Linked DNA regions of Homo sapiens: all the other regions are linked to region 5. The links are contacts of gene promoters, found by promoter capture Hi-C in blood cells and fetal thymus (Javierre and others, 2016). All regions are on one chromosome and are shown on one strand. The core of a region is centred on a gene start or on the middle of the fragment in contact, and the rest is flanking DNA. Distances in the headings are between cores, read along the strand shown. Region 1 overlaps SECISBP2 (SECIS binding protein 2). Region 2 holds the start of GADD45G (growth arrest and DNA damage inducible gamma). Region 3 overlaps LINC03062 (long intergenic non-protein coding RNA 3062). Region 4 has its middle 10 kb from the start of LINC03062. Region 5 holds the start of SYK (spleen associated tyrosine kinase).

What was found. Contacts are between HindIII fragments. The CHiCAGO score rates a contact against its expected background, and 5 or more counts as called.
Region 1: a contact is called between a fragment that was not itself captured here and the fragment with the promoter of SYK in region 5, in 2 of 17 cell types (neutrophils and monocytes). The highest score is 11.7, in neutrophils.
Region 2: a contact is called between the fragment with the promoter of GADD45G here and the fragment with the promoter of SYK in region 5, in 6 of 17 cell types (monocytes, megakaryocytes, fetal thymus and 3 more). The highest score is 15.0, in monocytes.
Region 3: a contact is called between a fragment that was not itself captured here and the fragment with the promoter of SYK in region 5, in 1 of 17 cell types (neutrophils). The highest score is 5.2, in neutrophils.
Region 4: a fragment that was not itself captured here is called in contact with the fragment with the promoter of SYK in region 5 in 1 of 17 cell types (neutrophils); the score reaches 6.9 in neutrophils.

What each region holds. Positions count from the first base shown.
Region 1 is chr9:89,320,808-89,323,507 of GRCh38, reverse strand. The region is part of intron 2 of SECISBP2 (SECIS binding protein 2); the gene reads right to left. Among named protein-coding and RNA genes, the nearest start is that of SECISBP2, 3.7 kb to the right of the region's middle. The HindIII fragment of the contact is 4,234 bases long and covers 1-2,700 here.
Region 2 is chr9:89,603,747-89,606,446 of GRCh38, reverse strand. GADD45G (growth arrest and DNA damage inducible gamma) reads right to left here and starts at 1,435. Exons shown (of 4, transcript NM_006705.4): 1 at 1,273-1,435; 2 at 914-1,015; 3 at 567-780; 4 at 1-478. The coding sequence starts at 1,325. The coding sequence ends at 368. It overlaps LOC105376139 (a long non-coding RNA gene), which reads left to right and starts at 1,431. Exons shown (of 2, transcript XR_930105.3): 1 at 1,431-2,700. RefSeq lists a silencer at 2,066-2,115 and an enhancer at 1,726-2,624. The HindIII fragment of the contact is 4,421 bases long and covers 1-2,700 here.
Region 3 is chr9:89,692,272-89,694,971 of GRCh38, reverse strand. All of the region lies in intron 3 of LINC03062 (long intergenic non-protein coding RNA 3062), which reads right to left. Among named protein-coding and RNA genes, the nearest start is that of LINC03062, 54 kb to the right of the region's middle. The HindIII fragment of the contact is 3,386 bases long and covers 1-2,700 here.
Region 4 is chr9:89,628,148-89,630,925 of GRCh38, reverse strand. No RefSeq gene overlaps it. Among named protein-coding and RNA genes, the nearest start is that of LINC03062, 10 kb to the left of the region's middle. The HindIII fragment of the contact is 1,777 bases long and covers 497-2,273 here.
Region 5 is chr9:90,800,481-90,803,328 of GRCh38, reverse strand. SYK (spleen associated tyrosine kinase) reads right to left here and starts at 1,510. Exons shown (of 14, transcript NM_003177.7): 1 at 1,436-1,510. RefSeq lists silencers at 1,372-1,531, 1,552-1,761. The HindIII fragment of the contact is 2,717 bases long and covers 1-2,312 here.

The sequences.
Region 1 (2,700 bases), core at 165-2,664, 1.5 Mb after region 5:
TCCAGGCACCCGTTGGGTCTGGCTTGACCATCACATGACTTGAAAAGCTCCCTGGCCTGGACTTTGCTCGCCTGGCTCTCACCTGCCCTCCAAGGCTCTATCTCTGTCTCTTTCCCTAGTGCAGTCTCCTCTACACCCTCCTTATCTCACCCATCTGACACATTCTGGGTCAGAACCTCTTATCTTTCTGCTTAGGACTTGACATAAATATAAACAATCCAGCACCTTCCCTAGTCCAGGCCTCCATCTCCAACTTTCAGGTCATTTCCACTTACTATTTCACTTTTTCCCAATTCAGCACGTATAAATCCCAAATTTAACATCCATTCCCCAAAACAGCCCCATTTACAACTTCTGTTCTCATGTATGATCCTACAATTATTTCCATGTATTCAACCGAATATTTTTGTAACATCTTTCCCACCAAAACCTGTACGGACAATCATGGGGCTCTTTTTTATTTCAACAGTTCTCTCATGTAGTTTCTTTACTATTTCCAGTGCCTAGAACCTGGTCAAAGCCTTCAAGACCCTCTTCTTTAAAAATCTTTCCAAAATTTAGGAGTGATTACAATGACCCCATTTAAGACACTACCAAAAGTTCCCTATTGCCTACCCAGCAAACCTAAAACTTTTCAGCTGTACTATGCAGGCTTCCAATCTACTGACAGCTTCCCCCCAAAATTATCACTTTATTCCTCTACTATCTCCCAAACATATCATGCACATGGTCCCTTCAGTCAGGCAACGACCCAAAGGGGATGCAGTTTCTCCTCCACCCACCGAGCCACGTGCTCAGCTGTACAATGTTGTATACCACTAGTTCTTCTCATAGCTGATCTGCTTTAACTCAAAAGCATCAATTGGTACTAAAATTTTCACAGTATATTGGCAGATGGTGAAAATGCTCAACTACCTCTTGTCAATAGCAGCAGCAATTTTGAAGAATAGCACGTTAATTCTGGTTCTGGTGCTACCTATTTGAATTAGCATGAACAAACATTCCTAGCTTCAGTTTCCCATGTGCAAAATAACATTACATCTGCCTGCCACCTCATGGATTGTAGTAACTATGAAAGAAGTGGAAGTATACAATAATACCCAAACAAAAGGCACACATCCTCATACACAGGTTGCACAGGATTTTTCACAAAGGATGTAACATGACAATGGACATTACTTGGAAGAAACTTATTTTGTTTGCATAGGCAAATTTGTTCATTACATCAGTAAATAATCAGTATTTTCCAAACATGGCAAATGTTATCTATCAGACTACTTCTAATTTCTTTGTCTTGTCCTATAACATAAATATGGAAGAGTCTGGTATGTTCATTTTCATCTCCATCACTTCAAAACTATGGAAGACTTTCAATAATTAATTCCAAATGAATAAATGAGCATCTTTGAGTGCACTGTGAAAGGTACTGGAGGAGGACAAATTCTGTAAAAGGTTACTATACCTTCTTTAAGGAAAGATGAGGGAAGGGGACATACAAAGTTGACTTAGGATGCTATGTAGTTGAACAAGTAAGAAGGAGGAAATAGTTGTTTCAGAAACTTCTATTCCTTTTGTCACAGCAGCAAGAGATCTCCATTTACATGTAATCTGACTATGGCAATGCAATTTTTAATCTATATTAGAACTGCTCAGATAATCAATTCTCAACCATGTGAAGTCTCATTATTTCATCCCCACTTTAAAGGATCTTTTCCTTTCTAACTCTTCCTCTTCAACTTAATGCCTTCCTTATCCTTGTTTTCTTGCCAGGCGTGAATACTTTTCCTTGGTCATAAACCAAAGCTAAAAAAGAAGAGTTAAGAAAACTATTTTTTTTTTTTTGAGAGAGAGTCTTGTTCTGTTGCCCAGGCTGAAGTGCAGTGGCGCAGTCTTGGCTCACTGCAACCTCCATCTCCTGGGTTCAAGCAATTCTCTACCTCAGCCTCCCGAGTAACTGGGATTACAGGCACCTGCCACCACACCCGGCTAATTTTTGTATTTCTGTAGTAGAGATGGGGTTTCACCATGTTGGTCAGGCTCGTCTTGAACTCCTGACCTCGTGATCCACCCGCCTTGGCCTCCCAAAGTGCTGGGATTACAGGCATGAGCCACCACACCCGGCCAAGAAAACTAATTTTTAAATTCAGCACTGCCCATTCTTGAGTCTCTGATTAGTCTCCACTCATGTTACTGCCAAAATGTTCCTTTAGCCATGTGAATGTTTTCCACCACTATTTTGAGTAACTAAATACCACCTAGCAGATGGCTTTGAGCTCTTGTCACTGAGATATATTTTTGTATTTTGTTATGTGAGACACTCAAGGTAGGGAACAACTCAAGTGAGACCCATGCCAAACTCCCCTTTACAGTGGATGAAATACAGTGGAAAAATAGGGTATTCCTACCAAAGACCAAATTCCAGCATATAAAGGTAGTGTTTCAACTTTCGTCAAAAAAATACAACTTTCAGTATTTCCTAAACACAAAAGACAACTCAATCATTTTCTTATTCATTACAATTCTCATTCTTGCAAATATAATTCTAGAATTTATATACAGTACAAACTATTTTCAATTACATCATGCAGGCACAAATAAAAGGAAACAAGTTAGAATCATATCAAAGAAGAAAAAAGCATTAGGATTCTTAGATTAGAACTACACCTGATGCAAATCTTAAAAACAGATCTACAAATAAAT
Region 2 (2,700 bases), core at 186-2,685, 1.2 Mb after region 5:
CTTCACGCTCCTGCAACTGTACCAAGTCCAGGGCGCCGCTCCTTCCTGCCGAGCGCAGGCTGCTGAGTCACGCCTGCCCGGCCAGTCTGTCCTTCCTGGCCCTGAGGCCAACGTCCTAGCCTAGGCCTTCCTGGGCGAGCAGCCGCTCCAGACACTTGCAGAGTCCTCAGCTCGGACCAGCCTGGCCCTGCCGCCACCGGGCCCCTCCTCGGGAGGCCGCGCCTCCTCGCTCTCCAGGCGCCCCCCCCGCCTGCCAGTCTCCACGCCGCACTCGGGCACCCTCGGAGGGCCCCTCCACAGAGCCAGCCGCGCTCTAGGCGCCCCGGGGCGTCACCACGTCGATCAGACCAAGGTCCCCGCCGGGCTGTCACTCGGGGAGGGTGATGCTGGGCACCCAGTCGTTAACGCTGCGGCTCTCCTCGCAAAACAGGCTGAGCTTCTCCAAGGCGGGATCCTTCCAGGCGTCCTCGTTGGGGTTCTGCGGAGAGAGAGCAGGGTCAGCCTGGCTGGCCGCGGGCCGAGGCGGGAACGACACTGGGGCGGGGACAGGACGGGACTGTACTCACCGAAATGAGGATGCAGTGCAGGTCGCCCGGCGCACCCGCCTCCTCGCCGGCGCCCACGATAGCCGCCAGCCGCTGCACATCGCCCACGCGCACTATGTCGATGTCGTTCTCGCAGCAGAAAGCCTGGATCAGCGTAAAATGGATCTGCAGCGCGATGTCGCCCTCGTCCTCCTCACCCGCAGCCAGCACACAGAAGGTCACATTGTCGGGGTCCCTGCGAGGGCAAGGCGGGGACCTAGGTCAGAACCGGCTAGCCGAGTTCTCCCGCCGCCACCCCTCCCATCCGCCAGTCTCCTCGCCATTCACCCCCGCCCCTGTCTCCCAGCCTGGGCCGCGTCTACACTTACACGTTCAAGACTTTGGCTGACTCGTAGACGCCGGCAGTGAGGCAGCCCTGACGCTGCGCCGACAGCAGCAACTCATGCAGCGCTTTCCCGGCACCCTGCATCCTGCGGAGGAGCCAGCGCAGTGAGCGGGAGCCGGCCGGAGGGCGCGGCGGAGACCCCAGCCCCGGCCACCGGCACACACCCTTGGCTCCCCAACTCCAACCACACTCCAATCCCGGCTCAGCGCCTGCACCCCGGCTCTCCAACCGGGATCTGGCGCCCGGACCCCCGCGCTCCCCTCCTACCCCGCGGATTCCCACCCTGGAAAACCCTGACGGTCGCCGACCGACCAGCGGCTTTCTCAGCGCCCTGAAACCCACCTGGCTGTGCTTTCCGGAACTGTGTCCTGGCCGCGGACTTCTTCCAGAGTCATAGTGCGATCAACCAGCAGCTAGTTATCCACAAGCGGAGAGCGCGGAGGGGACGCGGGCGAACACACTGACAGCCAGAGCTCAGCACGGCGCGCCCACCACCAGCGAGTGCGCCCCTACTACGCTGCGCGCCCTTATATAGGCTGGTGGGTGCGGCGCCGCCAGCTGGCGCGAGGCTGCGCGCCTATTGGCCGGCACCCGCTTTCTGATGTAAATGAGGCGGCGAGCCAGCGGCTCGTGCCAGAAGGCCACGTGGGGAGGGGTGCGGGGGATGACAATGCCTCAAATCTGCCGCTTTTGTTGGGGTGTTACCAGGCAGACTGGAGCCTGCAGATTTCATCTCGCCTGGCTTTTTTTTTTTTTTGAAGTCCTTAAAAGGAAAAAGTAAAAAAAAAAAAAAAAGAAAAAACCCAACCCACAAAAACCTTGTTTGCTTATATGATGCTGCAATTTGCGAAAAGCACCTTTATAGAAGCAAAGGGATTTTTTTTTGCATTTTGTATTGCTACCTTTCTATTTGTTTCTTTTCTTTAATTTGAAGTCTATGAGACTGTTGCATTGGAGCCAGAAATTAAGGTAAAAACAGGTAGCGCCAGTTAGAGGCTTGCAAAAGGCAGTGGGCACAGCCCCCTGCAGCTGACCACTAGCGTCCCGAGCGCGCTGGTGATGCCTGCCAGGCATACTCAATGTGTACATTGAGCCGTCTCTGGAAGATCCCACCCCACCTCCCCGCCCTTGGCCGAGCGCGGCGGGGCGCGGGAGACGGGGGCGGGCGGGGACGAGCAGATTGCGGCCGGCGCACGCCGCTCGTTTGCATTTCTATGGAGGGCGCACAATAGCAGAGGTCTGGCGTGTGGCGGTTTGCTGTAGGGACAATCGAGGCTTTCTCTTCATAGCAACACTGTCCACCTGCCGCCGGGTGGGGTGGGCAGGACCCCGCCGCGCGTGGGGGTCGCCGGGCTGCCTGGCGCGTGGGGTCGAGGCTGAGTGCCACTCCGTGGTCCCTGAGTGCACGCCCCCAGTACTGGCCCTGCTACAAGTAATTCCCTTCCATCCGTTCCTCGCACGGGTGCCGAACAGCCGCGCGAGTTGGGAAGGACGGAGAGCTGCTGTGCAGTCTTCGCGGCTGGACGCCCTGTGGCCGGGACCCCGCGGCTGCAGCCCCTGGAGCTTAGGTAATGCAGCTCGGAATCTTTCCCGGGGCGCCATCTGCAGGCAGGTTAAAAAGATCCTGAACCCCTTTTGTCCTCCCCTCCCCCCAACACACACACCCTTGCATTGGCCTGGCGCGGGGGAAGGGCGGTGGAGAGGGACGGCCACGGAGCTGCCCGGCCGGGCCCAGTGAGCCCTGTCCAAGCTGCGCATAAATAGAACCCG
Region 3 (2,700 bases), core at 68-2,567, 1.1 Mb after region 5:
ACACCTGCTGCCTCGGCAGAACCTTCCAGCCATGGCTCCTTAGCATCACTGACTTCCCACAATACATTTCATTGCTCATCTTCATCAAGGTTCATCTGCCTCAAAGTGTGATGGTGCTTTCCATTCACTCCAGCCGCTCTCCTTGTTTGCATTAAACTGGGAGAGGGGGTGGTTTTTTCCGGGGTAGGCCCTGCAGCACCGAGGGCTAGAGCCCTGTATCTGGCTACATGCCCGGTGGTGAGACCCTGAGCAGGAGCTCAAACTCTAGTGCATCACTGCCCAAGCCAGACCATGGGGCAACTTACGGTTTCTACCTAAAGGGGTATTGTGCCAATTAAATGTGAAGTACTCAACATAATGTCCAAGTAGGCACTCAGTGACCACTGGATGTTATCAAGATCACCTTACAGAAAAATGTGTTTTCAAAATGTGTGCCCCACTAGGTTCCAGGTATGAATGTGCCTATCTGTGCATCCATTGATGAATACGTCAGTTGATCTGTGTATTTGTCTAAATATATAGCCATGTGAGAGCCCTTTCTTATTTGTTCCGTAGGGATGTCTAACTACAACTTGGGAGGAAGGTCAGGGTACTGTTGCCTGCTGGATGCCATGTGTGGGTAGGGCACCCCTCACTGCCCCGTGATCCACAATAAAGGGCTTTCTGACTTCTCCCCTGTTCATCCAGTTTCTGCATTGGTAGGTAGGTTTCCTCTGTGTGAGCTCACAACGGACACCAAAAAAAGACTTGAGCAGTTCTTCATCCAAGGTTGTCATTTGGCAAATTCCTCCCACATAGCAGCGTATCCCGTCAGCAGCCCTGTGCCCTTGTAAGGACCGGCCATCCTCTGAGCATGACCCTGTGGTGAGCCTTTCATACCTCAGGCTGGCATACAGCCCGATGGAGGCGTCCGCTTCTTCCCCACCCCAGAATCCTCTCCTTCCGGCCTCCCTTTAGGAGTCCCCTTGTCTCTCATGCTCCTTCCCTGGACATAGACTTCCTGCCTAAGAAAACAGCATTGCCCATGCCCTGTCATGCAATGGTAGAGAAAGGATGGAAAGGGCATTCTCCACTCTCAGAAACAGTTCGCCCTTCTACCTCCAAGCACACGAAGGAAAAGGCGACCAATGTACCTACTACGGCTATGTCAGATGGTTAGTTTTCTACCCCAAATTCACACCAGAGAGCACCCAGCTATCTTATGCCCCTACTAGCACAGCTTTAGTCTCCCAACTGGGGGTACACCATATGAGTGCCGTGCTTAGCACACATCTCTGTCCTCTGCATTTTCATGCTGGCCCCTTGGAGGCTGGGGAGGAGGAGAGAGAGCCAGAGAGATGGAGGTACAGCAGTAGCCACGAGCTTGCTTCAGTGCACATGTGCCACTGCAGCTGCCAGTCCCTCTCTTTTTCTTACTCCATCTTTCTCTCTCTACACAGTCTTTATTGTCCCTAAGTTCTCCATTCATCTCCAAAGCACATTCTGGGCCTTGCACTCCCCTCGTCTGCTCCAGCTTCATGTCCCCACCCAGATTTCTTCTATCTTATCATCTCCATCTTACTCAACCTCACACTGTGTTTTGTTTCTACATTTTCTCTCATTTTAAAAAATCCAATCACCTTTAATATTTACTCGCCCCCCAGAGATTTTCAGTGTCGCCCCCTCTCCATTAATTGTAGGCCATCATCTTGTACCACCATCCATTTCATTCCTCTATTTTTTTCCCGCTGTGTTGACTACCACTTGCCAAAGAACACCACCTCCATCTGAAGATGGCCCAGCAGACATCCTGGATGATTTTCAAGCATTTTTTTTTTTTAGTGTACAGAGCTGACCCAGTAACTTCACCAAACTTTACCTCTGACATTCTAGCCTTCCATGTTTTGTTTTGTTTTGTTTTGTTTTGTTTTGTTTTGTTTTTTGAGATGGAGTCTCACTCTTGTTGCCCAGGCTGGAGTGCAGTGACGTGATCTCAGCTCACTGCAACCTCTGCCTCCCGGGTTCAAGCAATTCTCCTGCCTCAGCCTCCCGAGTAGCTGAGATTACAGGCACAAGCCACCATGCCTAGCTAATTTTGTATTTTCAGTAGAGACAGGGTTTCGCCATGTTGGTCAGGCTGGTCTCGAACTCCTGACCTCAGGTGATTCACCCTCCTCGGCCTCCCAAAGTGCTGGGATTACAGGTGTGAGCCACTGCTCCCGGCCAAGTCTTCCATGTTTTAATGATTAAAATGGCATCATGGATAAATAGGTTGAATTAATGTGAATTATTTTTCAGTCAGTATTCTCTGATAGGTATTATATCTCAGTCTTTCCTCCTGGCAATCGAGACAAGAAGGAACTGTAGGTGTAGTGTGAGACACAAATTTCACTTTATTTTTCAACTCAAAAAGCCCCCATGATGTCCCTTAGACCCCAGAGTAAAAAAAGTTACAAACTCCCTGGGGCTCAGTTCTTGGCACTTCATCCTAATTATGGCCCACGATCCTCAAAGTGGAGGTTGAATAAGTGATGATCTACTGTTATTATTAATTTGCATTTTTATGAAGCTCTTTTATAAGGACACCCTGTGGCTTCAGTGAGCTTGAAGATCCCAGCCTCCAGGCCCATAGCCTCATTCATGGTGTATGTTTCGAGGTGCCCTGTGGAATTAGGTACTGAGTTTATAAATATTTGATGAGCCTGGCCAACTTCAGAGGAC
Region 4 (2,778 bases), core at 136-2,635, 1.2 Mb after region 5:
GGTTCTGTGTCTGGTGAGGGCTGCACTCTGCTTCCGAGATGGCTCTCTGTTGCTGCATCCTCTAGAGGAGACAGAGAGGCTATGTGAATCATCTTTTATAAAGGCCTAATCCCATTCATGAAGGAGGCACCCTCATGATTTCCTCGCCTCCGAAAGGCCCCACCTGTTAATACTATTGCATTGAGATTTAGAATTCAACGTGAATGTGGGAGGGGAAACAACATTCAGACCACAGCATTCCACTAGGGAATGCCTAGCAGAGCCGTGGAGTCAGGGCTACAGCAGAGTCCTCATTAGGGCAATGTTTGGTGCAGCTCTGAGGGCAGGGCCACCTTCAAAACCCCAAAACTATGAGAAAATAAATGTGTGTTCTAAATTACCTAGTCTCCAGTACTTTCTCACAGCAGCATAATCAGACTAAGACATTCACCAAACATCCATTGTTTTCAGTCATTGTCTGGTCTCACCCTGTGTTTGTCCTGGCCTCAGGAAAGCTTTTACCCCAAGATTTTTCAGCCTGGTAAACTTTACCTGCTTGTAGCTACTGACTGGGAAAGTGGGAAATTCTGCCTTGGGCCCTCCTGCTCTGAGCGCAAGGAACCGCTGGGTCCCTACTCTCTGCCCACGAATACCAGAAACAGGAGCTTGTCTGCAAGAATGTGACTGCTTCTGGAAAAGGAGGAGGGATGGGTTCCATGTACAGAATAGTGACTATTGGTTCTCCTTTGCCAAAGAGGAATGTTAGAGCTTTCTTCCTTTCTTCTACAATCTGGCTTAGAAGAATATTGTTATAAAAAACAAACAAACAAACGCACACACATGCGCGCACACACACACACACACACAAAGGACTCAAAAGATGAAATTGCATGCTAGCCAACATCAGCAGGCACACTGCTCTTTCCAAATGCACAGGGCCATTGTTTTTGAGAAACTGAGACTTCAAAACATGATTTTGTAGAAGGAAACTTTCTAAACTACTAGATGGTTGGTGGTTTTTCTAGAACTGGGAGCTTGGAGGGAACAAAATAGAAATGGAGCCAAATGCAAGAGCAACTGCAGCACGAGGCATCTCAGAGGCTCACCGAAGTCACATTGCCTGCAACCGGCTGGGTTTTATTGTTGACTCTTTTAATACTACAAAAATAGTTCATGTTGCTGGAACAAGTGGCATAGTATGCTTGCATGAGGGAGCACTTCTGAGTCCTCTGCTCACCCGCTACCCCACCTCCAAGACCCAAAGCCATGGCCCTGACCTGTCCGGCAGCACCCTGCCTTCCTGCACCATGTGCACACACACAACCCTGAGCCCTACTCGGGGCAGGCCACCCTGGGCACTGAGTGGACACTTGCTGCTTTTCTGTAATTTAATATTTCCTGGGCATTCCTCCAGAATAATACTCACAGATCTACCTTGTTCCTCTTGAAAGCTATCTAATATTCCACTGAATGGAAGTCCCATCCTTTATCCGTCTATTCCGTCCCCAGGAACATTCAAGCTGTCCTGTTTTGTGCTATCTTTGTATAAAGCTGTGGTACACACCCTGTGCATATATTCTTACACATCAGTTCACTTACTTCTGAAGGATAACTTCCTAAAAAGGAGACTGCTGAGTCAAAGTGTCCAGGCACTTTACAGTGTAACGAAAACCGCCATTCTCTTGCCTTTGCTGTGGTTCACCATCCCAGCAATAATGTAAGGAAGTGTGCCCATTTCCTTGCAACCGGCCACCATTGAGGTTGTCCATTTTTAAACATTGTGTCAACCTTAGAGGTGGAAAATATACATCATTGTGACTTTTATCTTCATTTTGCTGATTACTAGTGAAATCGAGCATCTTTTTATGTAATCTTGGCAACCAAGGTGGCCTCTTCTTCCATTTTTATAATCTTTGCCCATTTTTTGTTTGTGTTTATTTTGTAAAGCTCTTTGCATATTGTGGCCACTAACCTTTTATGTTTCACAGAAATTGCCAAACATTTTCCCGGGTTTTTCTTAGTAATTTTACTTCTTGCCAAACAGAAATGTTTAACTTTTATGCAGCAAGTTTGTCCTTTGCAAGATCAAATCTGTCAGCCTTCAGGATGTCCTTTCTATTTTCTGGTCCTGCATATTTTAAAGGGCAACTCCCAACTCCAAATCAGACATATGTATGCCTAAAATTGCATCTGTCACTGTCAGAGCTGCATGTTTTCACAAGTGGTTCCCCAGGCTTTCTAAGACTTTCTGCCCCGCTGGAAGCAGTTGACACATGACTGTCCATAGGAAAGCTTTCAGACCACCAGGGAGCCCAGGCCAGGGACTCAGCATTTTCCTTTTTCCTGGCGTTAATTACCATGCAGAGAGAACACTCTATCTGAGCCCAAGGATTGCTAAGGATACCTCTTTTATTTATGGAAAATTTCGGAGTTTTCCAGAAAGAAACTGTTTGAAAGCATGAAGCTAAGCCTGGGGACACTCAGTCACCAAGGAAAGCTGCCAGGGACATTGGGGAAGTCAGGGTGCTGGTGAGTGCCTGCATGGGTGATTTGGTACATGCCCCACCCAGCTTGACCCCACCCGGTGCTCCCGAAGACCCCACAGGACACCCCACAGGAGAGCAGCTCTGCAGGGTGTGGAACAGGACCAAGGGGCAGAATGAAGTTCGCATAGACTGTGCTCCATCTGTGCCACAGCATGGGCCACAGTAAGATGTTCCACTGGTGGCTCATGCCTGTAATCCCAGCACTTTGGGAGGCCAAGGCAGGTGGATCATGAGGTCAGGAGTTCGAGACCAG
Region 5 (2,848 bases), core at 261-2,760:
TCAAATCCAAGGTAGAAGAGTAAGAGGATAAGACACAAATCAAGTAATTTGATTATAATCTCTCATTCAAATACACTTTAAAGTGCACTTCAAATACAGGGGATAATACAAATCAATTTCTGTTTTAATGCAAGAGTTTTCTAAATACGTTAAAACAAAAGTGCCGTTCAGAACAAAAATGATTTGATAAAATAATTTCAACTGACAAAGATTTCTCACTTAAAACACTTAATAATTTACATGTATTTAAGCCTTTTTGAGAAAATATAATTCTATCTATGCACTGCTCGGACTTTCACTGGGGAGAAGGAGGACATCAATGTATTTAGTTGCATTTAATTAAAATGCTGCCTGTGTGAAGGCAATGAATTTGTCCCTACTAAGACAAAGAAGTCAGATGGTAGAATCAATTCCATTTCTTCCAGGAACTCTTAGGGATTAAATGGTTCCTTTTTTTATTTTTAATACCAAGAATCAGATATGGCACAACATCTTCAACTCTTTTTTTTTTTTACTACACGCTGCAATGCTTTGAACTCTACTTGAGTTCGACTGAATCTTTGCTAAGTCAGGCAAAACTCAAAAAATATTTTGCAACACTGTTTCCAACGTAAAAAAAGATTCAAACTCTCACTTCTCCAATTGTCTTTCTAGTCCTTGAACATTCCAACAAAAGAATGGATTGCATTTATATAGTTTTTAGGTGGGCTTAAGGTTTTGGAGCCACATTGCCAAAAACAGACAAACAGACAAAAAGAAACACCCTTAACTCTTAACTCAAATTTACATTTTACTACATAAAACTTTCTTGCTCTCCAAGTTCATTGGCTAAGTAAATTACTTGACAATGAAAATGTATCCACAAGAGTAATTATGCTAAATTTTAGTAGTGGTTCAGAAGGGTTGTTGTTTGAATGCAACTGCTGTTTCTTTTTGTAGTAAAAGATTTGTCTAAGCTCATAAGACGTCTGGACATTTCTACTTTGAGTAACTTTGATAAACACTGCGGCATTTTCCAGTGGATTCGTGTAAATGGCCAAAGGAAAATGTTCTAGCTCCAAGATCGACTTCCTCGCGCTGTGCCTGATCCCAATCCCGCGTCTCCCGAGGGCCGGGCCGCGACCGCACTTTCCGCGCTCCCTGGGGGCCTGGGCGCCCTGGGGTGCCCGGGTCACTTTCCGCACGGTCTGACCTCCGTCCCCTCCGCCCAGGCCTGAGCCCCTCTCTCCCGGCGCAGCTTCTGGATCCCGAGCGCGGGTAGGTTCAGGAGCGAAGCTGGCGGAACCCACCTGTATTTTATTCACATGGTTTCAGCACTTTTACCTCGGCCGATGAAGGTAGAACAAGAAAGGGCATGAAAGCAGCGCGTCGTTCCCCGTAACCTCCTCTCCTTACCAGAAAGTCCCGGCCGGGTAGGGGACGCGGCCACACCTACCTGCGCCAGGTGAGGCGAGGGCGGGCGCAGCGCGGGGCCACCCGCTCCTCCTCGCTCTCCAGCCGCCGCCGGGGTGGCCTCAGCCGCCGGGCCCGCGGCTCTTCCTCATTTTGGGCAACTTCCTTAACGCGCCCGGGCAGGCGGCCCGCACTTCCTCCCAGTGTCGCGCCCCGCCGCCCTGGCCCGCCCTGCTGACCGCGCCCATGAGCCCGGAGCTGGGCGGGAATCGGCTGAAGCGCCGGGCGAGGCCCGCGGAATCGGCCCAGGCGGCGGCAGGTGTAGAGGAGCCCGGGTGGGGCGCGCCTCTCTCCTCCCGCCGGACAAGGGCCCTTCGCAGGCAGAGAAGGTGGGGCTGCCCGGGACATGGACCGCATCGGTCCCCCTCCTCCCCGCCAGCGCGGTGGCTTCTGTGACTGCCCAGGACCCACAGACACCCAGCGGCCCTTTCCTTTTGCTATGCAGTGCCGGGGAAGAGACTCCACTGCATGGCATATTCCCTGGAGTGTATCTTGGTCACCAAACCAACAAGCTCCAAGCTACTGTGCTGGAGCACTCGGGAGGCCTGGGCAGTGCTGAGAGGGACCCTGTAGGTGAACACCAGACTTCACGGCGCACTAGTGGGCAATGGGGCACGCTGCTTCTGAAGGCTTTAATTATTACAAAAGGCTTTGCTTCCTTCTTACCATGACGGCTCTGACGTCCACAACCAAATAAATTAAACCTATAGCCCTAAGAATGGTTTTGAGATACCCGCCTGATACCCTTCTCCCAACCCATCCCCCTTTTCCTTTTGGACATTCCTCTTTAAAATGTTCCCACAAAACGGCATCCAGACCTTCTTGATAACACTGGTTGGCAGTGCCTGTTTTAAAAAGCTTTACCCTAAGCCAAAATGCGAGAAGCAAAAAAATATATATATAATGTGCTGGATTGTAATTGCCATGGAGAAAATATAGGGATGGGACTATTTACACTTATTGGAGCCCCCAGCCTTTTCTGCTTCCAGGGTTATTGGATTTTCATTCATTTTTGCCATTATTTTTTCTAAACCTGTTAAAAGAAAACTTCAGCAGAATTAAATTTAAAGCAGTTTAATTGAGTAATGAATGATTTGCGAATGGGGCAGCTTCCAGAATCACAGCGGATTCAGAGACTCCAGGGATGCCTCATGGTCAGAACATATTTATAGACAAAAAAAGGGAAGTGACATACAGAAATTGGAGGTAAGGCAGAGAAACAACTGGATTGGTTACAGGTTGGCTTTTGCCTTCTTTGAACACAGTTTGAACACTCAGCAGTGTATGAATGGTTGAAGTATGGCCACTGGGATTGGCCAAGACTCAGCTATTGTTAAAGGCACATACTCCTAAATTAGGTTTTCAATCTTGTCTGCCTATTAAGCTAGGTTACAGT